2 separate regions of the Homo sapiens genome follow, and region 1 is linked to region 2. The links are contacts of gene promoters, found by promoter capture Hi-C in human tissues and cell types (Jung and others, 2019). All regions are on one chromosome and are shown on one strand. Each heading gives the region's core, a stretch centred on a gene start or on the middle of the fragment in contact. The rest is flanking DNA. Distances are from core to core; before and after follow the strand shown. Region 1 overlaps NDST1 (N-deacetylase and N-sulfotransferase 1). Region 2 holds the start of ANXA6 (annexin A6).

Region 1 (6,853 bases), core at 369-2,868, 600 kb after region 2:
CTGGGCAACATGGCGAGACCCTGTCTCTACAACAAAAATAAAAAATTAGCCAGGCGTGGCACGTGCCTGTAGTCCCAGCAATTTGGGAGGCTGAGGTGGGAGGATCGCTTGAGCCTGGGAGGTCGAGGTTGCAGTAAGCCACGACTGTGCCACTGCACTCCAGCCTGGGCAACAGAGTGAGATCCTGTCTCAAAAAAAAAGTTATGTTAGCTGTGAGTTTTTCACATATGGCATTTATCATGTTGAAAGAGTTCTTTTCTAGTACTAGTTTGATAAGCGTTTATATCATGAAAGGGTGTTGGATTTTGTCAGATGCTTTTTCTGCATCAATTGAGATGATCATGTGGTTTTTTCCCCCTTCATTCTAATAATGTGGTACATTACTTTGATTTTCATATGTTGAACCACCCTTGCATTCCTAGGATAAAACCCACTTGATCATGGCATATAATTTTTTTGTTTTGTTTTGTTTTTTGAGATGGAGTCTCGCCTTATCACCCAGGCTGGACTGCACTGTCGCAATCTTGGCTCACTGCAACCTCCGCCTCCTGGGTTCAAGCGATTCTCCTGGCTCAGCCTCCCGAGTAGCTGGGATTACAGGTGCATGCTGCCATGCCTGGCTAATTTTTGTATTTTTAGTAGAGATGGGGTTTTGCCATGTTGGCCAGGCTGGTCTTGAACTCCTGACCTCAGGTGATCCACCTGCCTCAGCCTCCCAAAGTGCTGGGATTACAGGTGTGAGCCACCACGCCTGGCCTGCAATTTTCTTTTCTTGTAGAGTCTTAGTTTCAGTATCAAGGTAATGCTTGGCCTCATAGAATGAGTTGGGAATGTTCTCTCCTCTTTAGATTTTTGGTAAGAATTTAAGAGAAGGATTGATGTTAATTCTCCTTTAAATGTTTTGTAGGATTCACCAATGATGCCACCTGGTGGTAGGCATTTCTTTGCTGGGAGTTTTTTGATTACCGATTCAATCTCCTGACTTGTTACAGGCCTATTCAGATTTTCTATTTCCTCTTGAGTCAGTTTTGGTAGTTTGTGTGTCTCTAGGAATTTGTCCATTGCATCTAGAGCATCTGATTTTTTAACGTGCAGCTGCTTATAGCAGTCTCTCATGTTCCTTGTTTTCCTGTGAAGTTGGTGTTATGTGTGTGTGTTTTGAAGGGTCATTCTCAGCGCCTCAGATCACCCACCACTTCCATTTCAAGGTCCCAGGAAGAACAATCAAATGTAATGAGTTTCCACATTGAGTGGGCCACTTGACTCCTCAGCCCATCCTCATCTGCCTCAGGACAAAGGTGGCAGTGCCACCCCCAGGCTCAGGCTCAGAAATGGGGTCTGTATGTGTGTGAAACCAGGAACTGGCAGAGACTTTACTGAGCACTCACTGTGTAGCAGGCTCCTGCTGAGGGCTTTCCAGACACTGTCTCTTCACTCCTCACAACATCTCTGTCACCTCAGTCCTGTGACTATCCCCACTTCACAAAAGCAAAGACTGAGGCTCAGAGACATGAATTACTTGACCAAGGTCACACAGCCAACACTGAGCCTGTATTTGAAACCAGATCTACCCGGCTGTGCATATTTTGACTACTGTGCTGCACAGCCTATTCCTTCCCAAGGGAGAACACCCCAGAATGGGGCAAAGGCCAAGGAATTCAAGCTCCAGTTTTTACCCCCACTCCCTGAAAGGTGTAATAGAGCAGAGCTTCTCCAAGTACCCATGCAGAGGAGCCCTCCATCTGCTGCCATGCAGAGCAACAGACACCCTCCACCAATTACCCATGCAGAGGAGCCCTCTGCTGCCATGCAGAGCAGTAAATACCCTCCACCCACTGACCAGAGGCCCCCATGGAAAAGCACAGTGCAGAATAGCCTGAGGGTACACACCAGCAGGGTGTGCATGCTCACGCAACTGTTTGTATATGTAAAACAATTTCTGGAAAGATCCACAGAAACTGCTAATGGTGGTTTCCTCTGAAGAAGTGAGTTGGAGGACAAAGGTCAGGGAGTGGAAGGAGACATACATCTCACACCATTCCCTGTTTGTACTTCTGTTTTAGATTTGTAGGTACACATACTGTTAGGCACCTTTAACAGCTTCCCAGGATCACCCAGTCCCCAGCCCTGAAAAGGGCAGAGCCAGGCTCGGGGAATTGTCCCCACTCTGCCTCATGGTCATGGCATTTCCCTGTGCCAGGACACATTCCCAGCCTCAGGCCCAGGGGGCAGGACAGCCTAGTGGACTCCAGGCTGTGGAGTCTCATGGATCAATGACTACCAGCTCTGTGATCCTGACAGAGTTACTTAACCTCTCTGAACTCAAATTCCTCAAATATACAATGGGAATGATAATACCTACCTCAGAGGATTGTTATGAAGATTAAAAGAGGCCGGGCAAGGTGGCCGATGCCTGTAATCCCTGCACTTTGGGAGGCTGAGGCAGGAGGATCATTTGAGGCCAGGAGTTCAAGACCAGCCTGGGCCACATGGCAAAACCCCATCTTCACAAAAAATACAAAATAATTAGCCTGGCGTGGTGGTGCATGCCTGTAATCCCAGCTACTCAGAAGGCTGAGGTGGGAGAATGGCTTGAGCCCAGGAGCTTGAGGCTGCAGTGAGCCGAGATCACTGCATTCCAACCTGGGTGACACAGTGAGACACTGTCACAAAAAGAAAAAATTTTAAAGATAGCACTTGATAAGCAGAGGGTCTGCCTGACAGGATAAGAAATACTTTTTATTTATATTATTTAATTTATTGATGTTAATATTGATAATATTATTGCCCCACCACCATTAACCACCAGCCCAGTCTTCCCGGGAGGCATTCGCGCTGACTACACTGTGAGAGGCTAGGATAATAGTGCCCCCTGGTGGACATCTTTTGGACTGCATCTGATGAGTACCTACCATCTAGTACCACTAGAGAAAGAACAGGAGTCAAAATTCAGTTCCATTTCTTCCTTTTTACCCCTAAATATTAGGTTGGTGCAAAAGTAATTTCAAAAAACTAATATCTCACATGTACTTCATTAGATACTCTTACATAACAGTAAAATAATCAAAACCAGAAAATTGAACATCGGTTGAATAGTATTATCTAATCCACACGGTCCATCCTGACATTCTGCTAGGTGTCCCTATGGTATCCTTTATAGCTAATTGTTTCATGGTCCAGGACCCCTCCAGGGTCACACATGGCATTTGATTACCACATCTCTTTAGTATCCTTTAATCCTGAACCATTTCTCAGCTTTTCTGTATCTTTCATCACCTTGACATTGTTGGAGTTCAAGCCAGTTATTTTGCAAAATGTCCCTCAATACGGATGTGTCTGTCTGTTCCCCTTGGCTGGATTCATGTCCCGTGTTTTCGTTAGGAATTTCCCAGGTGTTGCACTGGGTCCTTCCCATTGCATCATATCGGGAGACATGGTGTCAATTTGTTCCAGCAATGGTGATGTTAACCCTAGCTCCCCCGTCTGTCAGCTTGGGGAAGCTAAGCTCCCAGGGCCAGAGAGGAGCTGAGACTGGCCTACAGTCACAGGAAAGTCAGGATCCTCAGCTCAGGGTCTTCACGAATGCTTAGGATAAATGCAGCCAGGCAAGAAATTGATCACCGGCACCTAGGCCTCCTCCAGATCCTAACTCCATAGGAGCTTAAGGGCTGGGTAAAGCAGTGTTGGCCTTCATCGCATCGTCATGTAAGTCTAGCTGCTTGGAGTCCCCCTTTCTGCTTTGTCCATTTCTATTTTTCATTAAGACTTTTTCATTCCACAAATGATATGCAAATGCATTATCCTTGTCTTATATATATTTCAGCCAAGGCTGAAGTCTCCTTTGAAAGTTCCCCTTCTCAGTCTTTCCTCCCCTAGTATCAGTTTGATATGAGACGTCTATCTACAACCCCAGGAAAAATACAAACTGTAGTGTTCTCTTTCCATGATGGTCACATTGTATAAGTCTGTCATAGAAATTTCCCTGGCAGGGCTTGGAGACTGAGCTCATTACTTTCAACTGAATCATCATTACAGTGAATGGATACACTGGAGGTTACCTAGCTGAGACCCTGTGGATGGACATCTAGGTTGTTCCCAGCGTTTTCCTATTGTGAAACACACTGCCCTACACGCATGATCCAGGCTTCTCCAAGGTAACTCCCCACCTCTAGAAGCCCAAACCACTCCTGGGGCACCAGATTTACTGGGTGGACATCCCCGTGGGGGGTGAGGAGGGGCTGATGGGCTGCTACTCATTCAGCCTATTAGAACTGCAGGACTTTTAGGACCTCTGGAAGCAACTGGGCTGGGTTTTCACAATGTGTTTTGAGAAATCTTAGGGTTCCAAGATAGCCTGAGAGACAGGGAGGAGGTGAGCTGGGAAGAGTCCAGAGCTTCACTCCCACTCCAACCACAGAGCACCCCCACCTTTACCTGGTTTTCAATTAAGTGATTCTTTCAAAACAGAATCTCAGCTGTATGTAAATTCAAAAATCCCTGTTGCAGGCTGACCCCTCAGTTGGCACAGTCACCTTTCTGCACCATGCCTCTGGATCTGCTCTTGTCCATGCAGCCTCCAGCTGTGTTCTTGCTGGTGAGGGCCACCTGACCCAAACCAAGCTCCCAGCTGACGAACTGCAAAGAGGGCTCTGCAGGTGCTGCCCTTGTGCCATCAGAGGTGGCACTGTGGTATTTCACTTTGAACATACTGGGTCCTGGGAAGCAGGACTGCCCAGCTGTGTCCCCAGCATGCCCCTCCTCTGTCCCTCAGAAGCTGTGCACATTTCTGGGTACCGTCTCTGACAAACATGGTGGCCTGATTCAGTGTTCCCAAACTTCCCTGAACACCAAGGAGTCTGTTAAAGTACACAGTGCTGGGTCCCACCCCAGAGGTTCTGAGTGAGCAGATTTTGGGGGAGCCCAGGAATGTATATTGTTTAAAGCTTCCCAAGGGGATTCTGAAGGAGCATGTCTGATCACCTGCATTGCAGACACTGGCCTGGGCCCCTACCTGTGAACTCTCCTTCTCCAGGCAAATCTCGAGTCTGGCCCTCAATTAGGCTGTGAGGGCTTCAGTCATTTGTTTTACCCTAAGTTTTCCTGGACAGTGGGGCTCTCCGTATTAATTAGAACCCATAGGAACCATGGATCTGAGTCAGAGTTTCCCACTCTGAGCCAGAGTTACACTGGGCTGCCTCAGTGTACTGGAGGGCTCCTTATAAATTCCTCAGTGTACTGGAGGGCTCCTTAAAGATGTTGGGCCCCACCCCACATCTGCTGGAGCTGAATCTCTGGAAGTAGACCTGGGAATCTGCATGTTTTAGGCAAGTTCTTCAAGTGAGGCCATGGAGTCCAACTCCCTCCATGCGTCTAAAAGGTGAGGGAAATGGGATAAAACAGTAAAAGTGGCTTGCCCCCAGCTACAATATACATTAGTAGCAGAAATTGTTCCAGCCCCCAAGTCTCCTCTCGGTCCAGTGCCCGACACCCAGGGCTTCTGAGCAATCCAGCTTGTCTGAGGGCTTCTATCACCTGAGATGCCCCCTGTGGCTGCCCTAGGATAGGCCTCTGCTGTATCTGGGAAATCTTCCATTTATAACCCAGTGAAAATGATCTGCGTTGACCAAGTCACCATGTGTATAGGTGTGTGCATACATGTGGGCACGTGTGCATGCCTGAGGTGGCAGGGACAAGCGGGCTTTGGCCGTGCATGCAAACACCCCTACTCCACCCTTCCCTGCGGGCCTTGCAAAAAGGTCAGACAGGACCAAGGTGTACAAACAGAACCCCACTTTATTAGCAGTTAGTTCGAGATTGTACATTAATGGAGGAAGGTCTCACCTTTAACACAACCCAAAACGGCTGGTTCGAGAGCCCTCATCAGGCGAACTGGATAGCACCCCCTCTCCCCACTCTCCCCACCCCCCTACAAGGGAAGGAAACCTCTGCCTGCTTCCCCAGTGTGCCCCCCACCCTCTCCAGTCGGCCCTCTCCTCTCCCAGGAAATGACATGAATTTCATGCACAAATTACAAAAGGAGCCCTCTTGCTAATAATAAAAGCTAACACAGTCATAGAAAACCCTCTCCTCCCTCATTCTCCTCCAGGGCCGGAAACAGTAAGAGCAGGAGGGATGAACTTCTTAGGATAAAACGCATCCAGTTTCCCCCAGGTTCCTGGCATTGACCCCACAAAACCCTATGCCAGTCCCTTAGGGAAGCTGAAAACTCGCCAGCCGTCTGAGCTGGCAAGGGCAGCCAGCCCACAGCTGTCAAGCCAGGAACCCAGTGTTGCCTCAACGGCCTGGGCAGCAGGGGGTCTAGGCCGCCCCCTCATCCTCACATCAACTAGAGCAGAGGCTGCCTCCTTTGATGTGTGAAAATCCCTGCTGTGGCCCCTATCTGCTCATTCTACAGATGAAGAAACTGAGGGCCTGGGAGGAAGATGGTCAGGCAGCTACTAAATGCACCCGGCTGGGATGAAACTTCACAGCTCCTGCTGCCAGCCAGGGCTCTTCTCACACCACAGCTTGCGGGAGGCAGTTCCCCATGTAGGCTTTTCCCTGCTGCAACTGAGAGCCTGGCTCTGCTCCAGTGCACACAGACCACGGGTCTCCAGGAAATGAAAACCCTGGGACCCCAAAATAGAAAGAGAGAGACATATGATGTGTTTGGTGCCCTGTGGCCCATCCCCAGGGTCGAAGGCCCAGCCTTCAGGCATGCAGCCTCCTCCTTCCAGAGCCCTGTGTCCTTCCTTCCAAGGCCCAGATATTACGGCCTTCTCCAGGGAGACTTTCCGGCCCCCCCAGAGCTCTTGCTCTAACTGGCCCCTCTGCTGTTTTGGCACTTGGTACA
Region 2 (6,355 bases), core at 3,856-6,355:
ATTTGTACACTACAGCCCATTCTGTCTCCAAACATTGCTGCAGGAATTCTCCCTTCTCTCTCCTCCATCAATTTTTTTACCTTCTATATGATAACTCCCACCAGCATACAAATATGCTGTTATGTCTTCAATCTTTAAAAAAATCAAACAAAAGCCCTTCTCTTGACACCAATTCCCTTGCCAGACACTGCCTCATTCCCTTGCTGGCCTTCGCAGCAAAACTCCCAGAATAAGTAGTTTAGGCTTTTTATCTTACACCGTTCCCATCAGGCCTTTACCCCCAACATTCTGCAATTCACAGCAAGAGATAAGTTGGCTTTCACATTGCTAAACCCAATGATAGATTTGTAGACCTTGTCCTACTTTACCTAAAAGCAGCATTTGACACACCTGATCACTCCCTTATTTTTCACTTTGCTGCCACATTCTCCTGGGGTAGTTTCCTCCCATCTTACTACAATCTCCTTCCCAGTCACCTTTGCTGAATTCTTTTCTTCTCCCCAACTCTTTTATTTTATTTTTTGAGAGTCTCACTCTGTCTCTCAGGCTGGAGTGCAATGGTGCCATCTCACTGCAATCTCCACCTCCTGGGAGTGATTCTCCTGCCTCAGCCTCCCAAGTAGCTGGGATTACAGCATGCACCACCACGTCCAGCTAACTTTTTGTATTTTTAGTAGAGATGGGGTTTAACTATGTTGGTCAGGCTGGTCTTGAACTCCTGGCCTCAAGTGATCCACCCACCTCAGCCTCCCAAAGTGCTGGAATTACAGGCATGAGCCACCGGGTCCGGCCTCTCCCCAAATGGTAACATAAGAGTGTCTCAGACTCGGTCCTTAGCATCGTGGGTGATCAGCAACTATTTGGGGCTGGCGGTACAGGCAGTAAGAAGAATTTACCAAGGCAGTTGTAGGTAAAGAAAGGCAGATTTATTAGAGAAAGTATGAAAATACATTGCTGCCAGACGTGGTGGCTCATGCCTATAATCCCAGCACTTTGGGAAGCCGAGGTGGATCACGAGGTCAGGAGTTTGAGACCAGCCTGATCAACATGGTGAAAACCCATCTCTACTAAAAATACAAATATTAGCCAGGTGTGGTGGCACGCACCTGTAATCCCAGCTACTCAGGAGCCTAAGGCAGAAGAATCGCTTGAACCCGGGAGGCGGAGGTTGTGGTGAGTCGAGATAGTGCCACTGCACTACAGTCTGGGCGACAGAGTGAGACTTCATCTCAAAAGAAAAACAGAAAAGAAAAGAAAATACGTTGCAAGGGTGCAACGGGCAAGTTAGCAAAACAGAAGCTAACTGCAAGAAAACAAAATCTGGCTAAGGATTTTATAGGATGGTGCTTGTGCTGTGTGCTGAAGAGGGCTTTGTGCAGTACTGATAACATCAAGGGTGCAGGGAGCTTGCGTGCATTTTTCTATCAGGTGAGGGTCTGGCAATAGCTGGGCGCAGATAAGATTGTGAGTTATTCGCACAGGAGGGCTATGCATCCTGGGCCATGAAGAAAGGCAGACTTATAGCTTATCTGCTTTCTCTTTTTGCTTTCCCTTGGTCCTGCCAGCCTGACTCCTTTTGCCGAACTAGGACTCCATATTTAGTTCTCTTCTCCCTTAAGGATCTCATCTCTTGAACTCCAGACTTGACTAGCCAACTGCGTACTTGACATCTCCTGTTGGGTGTCTAATAGAAATGTTCAACAAACTGGTCAAAAACTGAACTCCTGATCTTTTCCCCACTTCTAATTCCCAAAATTGCTTTCCCTGCAGTCTTGCTCATTTCAGTTGATGGTAACTCCATCCTTCCAGTGGCTCAGGCCAGGATCCCTGAAGCCATTCTTGACTCTTTCTCATCTCCCACCTGATCCTTCGGAAATCATGTTCAACCTTCAAATACATCCCATCTCCAACCACTTCCCCCACCTGCATTTATACCAGCCTGTCTCTTGCCTGGATTACTGCAAAATCTCCTAGCAGATCCCCTTCTTCTACTCTTCCCCCAACAGTATTCAGTATTTCCAACACAGGAGACTTCAGTGACCCTTTAAAAAATATGTCTTGGCCAGGTGCGGTGGCTCACACCTGTAATCCCAGCACTTTGGGAGGCCAAGGCAGGTGGATCACCTGAGGTCAGGAGTTCAAGACCAACCTGGCCAACATGATGAATCCCCGTCTCTACTAAAAAAATACAAAAATTAACTGGGCATGGTAGCAGGTGCCTGTAATCCCAGCTATTTGGGAGGCTGAGGCGGAAAGAATTGCTTGAACCCACGAGGTGAAGGTTGCAGTGAGCCGACATGGCACCACTGCACTCCAGCCTGGGCAACAGAACGAGCCTCTGTCTCAAACAAACACAAAAGTCTTATCCAGAATATAAAAAGAACTCATATAACTTAACAACAAAAAAGACAAAAAATCCAATTTAAAAATGAGCAAAAAGCATGATTAGATATTTTTCCAAAGAAGATGTACAAATAGTGGCCAATGAGCACACAAAAAAGATACTCCACATCATTAGTCAGAAGGGAAATGCAAATCAAAAACACAATTATAGATGCCATTTCATAATGACTAGAGCACAAGTTTTTTGTACTTTTGTTTTTTTGAGACAAGTTCTCACTCTGTCGCCCAGGCTGGAGTGCAGTGGTGCAATCACGGCTCACTGCAGCCTCTACCTTCCAGCTTCAAGGGATCATCCCACCTCAGCCTCTCCAGTAGCTGGGATTGCAGGCATGTGCCACTACCCCTGGTTAATTTTTTGTAGAGATGCGGTTTCGTCATGTTGTCCAGGCTGGTCTCAAACTCGTGGGCTCAAGCAATTCACCCACCTCGGCCCTCCCAAAGTACTGGCATTACAGGCATGAGCCACTGTGCCTGGCCGGGTACAAATTTTTAAAAAATAAAATACAAGTGTTGGCAAGGACATGGAGAAATTAAAAGCCTCATACATGACATGGCTGATGGGAATATAAAATGTTGCAGCCACTCTGAAAAAATGTTTGGCAGTTCCTCAAAAACTTAAATGTAGAATTACTATATGACCCAGCAGTTTCATTCCTAGGTAAATACACAACGACAATTGAAAACAGGTACTCAAATAAGTATTTGTATGCAAATGTTCATTAGCAGCACTATTCACAATCAGCAAAAGGGGGAAACAATGCACTATCCATCAACAGATGGATGGATAAACAAATTATAGTGTACTTATACAACGGAAAATTATTCAGCCATTAAAAGGAATGGAGTGCTGGACCGGACACGGTGGCGCATGCCTGTAATCCCAGCACTTTGGGAGGCAAAGGCGGGTGGATCACCTGAGGTCAGGAGTTCGAGACCAGCCTAACTAACATGGTAAAACCCCATCTCTACTAAATACAAAAATAAATTAGCCACACGTGGTGGTGCATGCCTGTAATCCCAGCTGCTCGGAAGGCTGAGGCAGGAGAATTCCTTGAATCTGAGAGGTGGAGGTTGCAGTGAGCCGAGATCACGCCATTGCACTCCAGCCTTGGCAACAAGAGCAAAACTCCAACTGAAACTAAAAAAAAAAAGGAATGGAGTGCTGATACATGCTACAGTGTGGATGAACTTCAAAAACATGCCACATGAGGCCAGGCACGGTGGCTCACGCCTGTAATCCCAGCACTTTGGGAGGCCGAGGCAGGTGGATCACCTGAGGTCGGGAGTTCAAGACCAACCTGACCAACATGGAAAAACCCCGTCTCTACTAAAAATACAGAATTAGCTGGGTGTGGTGGCGCATGCCTGTAATCCCAACTACTCGGGAGGCTGAGGCAGGAGAATTGCTTGAACCCAGGAGGCAGAAGTTGTGGTGAGCAGAGATCACGCCACTGCACTCCAGCCTGGGCGACAAGAGTGAAAAAACAACAACAAAAACAAACAAACAAAATGCCACATGAAAGAAGTCAGACAAGAAGGGTTGCATCTCATGTGATTCCATGTATATGAAATATCCAGAATAGGCACATCCGCAGAAGCAGAAAGCAAATTGGTGGTTGCCAGAGACGAGGGGTAAGGGAAAGTTAGGAGTGACTGCTCAGTGGGTATACTGTTTTATTTTTCCGTGAAGAGAATATTTTGGAACTAGATAGAGGTGGTGGATACACAACATTGTGTCTGTACAAAATGCCACTGAATTGTTGACTTTAAAATGGTTAATTTTATGTTGTGTGGATTTCATCTACCCAAAAATAATACCCTTTCTTTGCTCAATATCCTGCAATGGATCCCCAGTTGACTCAGAGTAAAAGACAGCGTGCCTTCAAGGGCCCCGGAGGTCCCACCTGATTGGGTCCCTCTTATCTCTCCTCTCCCTCCCACTCACTCCATTCCAGCCACACTGGCCCCCCTGCTGATCCTCGGAGGCGCCAGGTGGCCTCCTGCTAGGAGCATTTGCTCCAGCAGTTTCCTCTGCCTGGAACACTTTCCGCAGGTATCTGTCCAATTCTTCTAACTTCCTCATCTTCTCCTTACCAATCCCCTGGGGACAATAATTCTCAGTTTCCTCTGTATTCTCAGTTTATCAATTTTTCCTGTTCTAGCGCTGGATTACAACTGCTGGTCTCCCTGCCTGCCTTCCCTGCTTCCCAGAGCACGAAGAAGCTTGCCTCCGCAACCCACTATTTGTGTGACCTTGGTCCAGGAACTGGACTGGGCTCTCCTCCTGAAAGTGGGTAAATAATGTCACCGACCTAATGAGGCTGTTGAGGCATGGAATCTGATCAGGCAGATAAAGTGCCCCTGGCAAACCTCAATTTTCTGTTTCTCAACAAAGCTTTGGCGACTTATAAGAATTTGCGGGAAAGTGTCCAGAACCCGGAGTCAGGAGCCCTGACTTCTAGCCCTGAAGGGCCGCGTGACCTTGGCCAAAGCCCCTAATCCTTCTCAGTCTCAGATCCGGGGGCTGGAAACTGAGGAGGTTCTCCCGGCAAGCCCCTCGGGCTAGTGACATTCTAAGATTCCAAGAGCTAAGGAGCTAGAGGGGTGGGGTGGAGGAGGGAGGCGGGCGCGCCGGATTGGCCTCTGCGCGCCACGTGTCCGGCTCGGAGCCCACGGCTGTCCTCCCGGTCCGCCCCGCGCTGCGGTTGCTGCTGGGCTAACGGGCTCCGATCCAGCGAGCGCTGCGTCCTCGAGTCCCTGCGCCCGTGCGTCCGTCTGCGACCCGAGGCCTCCGCTGCGCGGTGAGTGGGCTGAGGCTGGAGAGGGGAGTCGCTCTGGGAACCCCTTCCCGGGGGCTGCAGGGACACAAGAAATAAGCGCCCAGTCATCGGCTGATGGGTACCCCCCGCCAGGAGCAGGGACGGGAGGGCGCGGTAACCCGAGAGTGTCGCAGACTGGGTGTGTCTGGGGAGCGCAGCGGAGCAAATCTGGGGTCGGGGCGGAGAGGCGCGGGCGGAGGGCGCCCTGGCTAGGGGGAGGGGAGGGAGTCCCGTTGCTGCAGAGGGTCTGGTTGAGGGTCCTGGGCGCCGGAGCTGAGCCAGGGGCTGGTCCTGCCGGCCTTAATTTGGGGGGGCTCAAGAGACTTTGAAGGTCCGGGGTTGGGGTCAGCTGGACGCCAGTCAAAGGACCCGCAGAGAAGGGTGTGGCTGAGGCCCAAGACTGAGAGCAAGAGCGTTGGACCCTCCAGCTGCTTATAAAATGGCTTGTGTGTGGTGTCGGGGGAGGGCTGCCTGCGTGCAGAGAGCTGAACGTCCGGTCGTACATACCTCAGGGCCTCATTGGACCCCATCCCCTTTGGGCCACTGCTTGTCTATGAATGCAGTCTCCCAACGGGGCTCCGAGGCCTCCTATGGTGAGGCAGGGGCACTACCCTTCTTTCTGCATCCCCTAAGCGGTCTAGGCCTTCCCAAAGTTTGGGGGCTTCAAATAATTCCCCATATACCAGCATGGGAGCAAAATACCCTGAATCGGAATCCCAGCCCCTGTTGCAGTGTGACTTTGGGCGGTGGCTTTCCCTCTCTGAGCCTGGATTTCCTTCTCCAAGTCCATAGTTGAGAAACCCAGTCTCTTTCAAAGGAAACAATGGCTTTGAAAACTGATTTATTTGTCAGCTGTATGGAATGATTGCAGGTTTGGGAGTCTTGATTATAGATTTGGGAAGCCTGGCACAACCCTTGTAGGCCCTACAAGGGGAAAGGGCAGGAGGTCCTTTGGGACAACTAATCTGGCCACGGCTTCCTGCCTCCTCCTTCCTTTCCCTAGATTCTAGTGGGTCTTCTCTGACAATTCCAAATTTGGACATATGGCTCCCGGGTTTGTGAAAGGACTCTGGTTTCCCCCCAAGAGTCCGCCCTTTTCCCTCCATTATTCCTTCCCCCTTGCCCAAAACATG

Evidence for each region. Contacts are between HindIII fragments. The study calls those that stand out against the background at their distance.
Region 1: a contact is called between a fragment that was not itself captured here and the fragment with the promoter of ANXA6 in region 2, in 1 of the 25 tissues and cell types used here (liver).

The regions. Positions count from the first base shown.
Region 1 is chr5:150,557,134-150,563,986 of GRCh38, reverse strand. NDST1 (N-deacetylase and N-sulfotransferase 1) reads right to left here. Exons shown (of 15, transcript NM_001543.5): 15 at 5,776-6,853. Among named protein-coding and RNA genes, the nearest start is that of NDST1, 52 kb to the right of the region's middle. RefSeq lists an enhancer at 6,710-6,853. The HindIII fragment of the contact is 9,022 bases long and covers 1-6,129 here.
Region 2 is chr5:151,156,529-151,162,883 of GRCh38, reverse strand. ANXA6 (annexin A6) reads left to right here and starts at 5,105. Exons shown (of 26, transcript NM_001155.5): 1 at 5,105-5,204. RefSeq lists a silencer at 4,233-4,292 and an enhancer at 4,088-4,944. The HindIII fragment of the contact is 14,536 bases long and covers 804-6,355 here.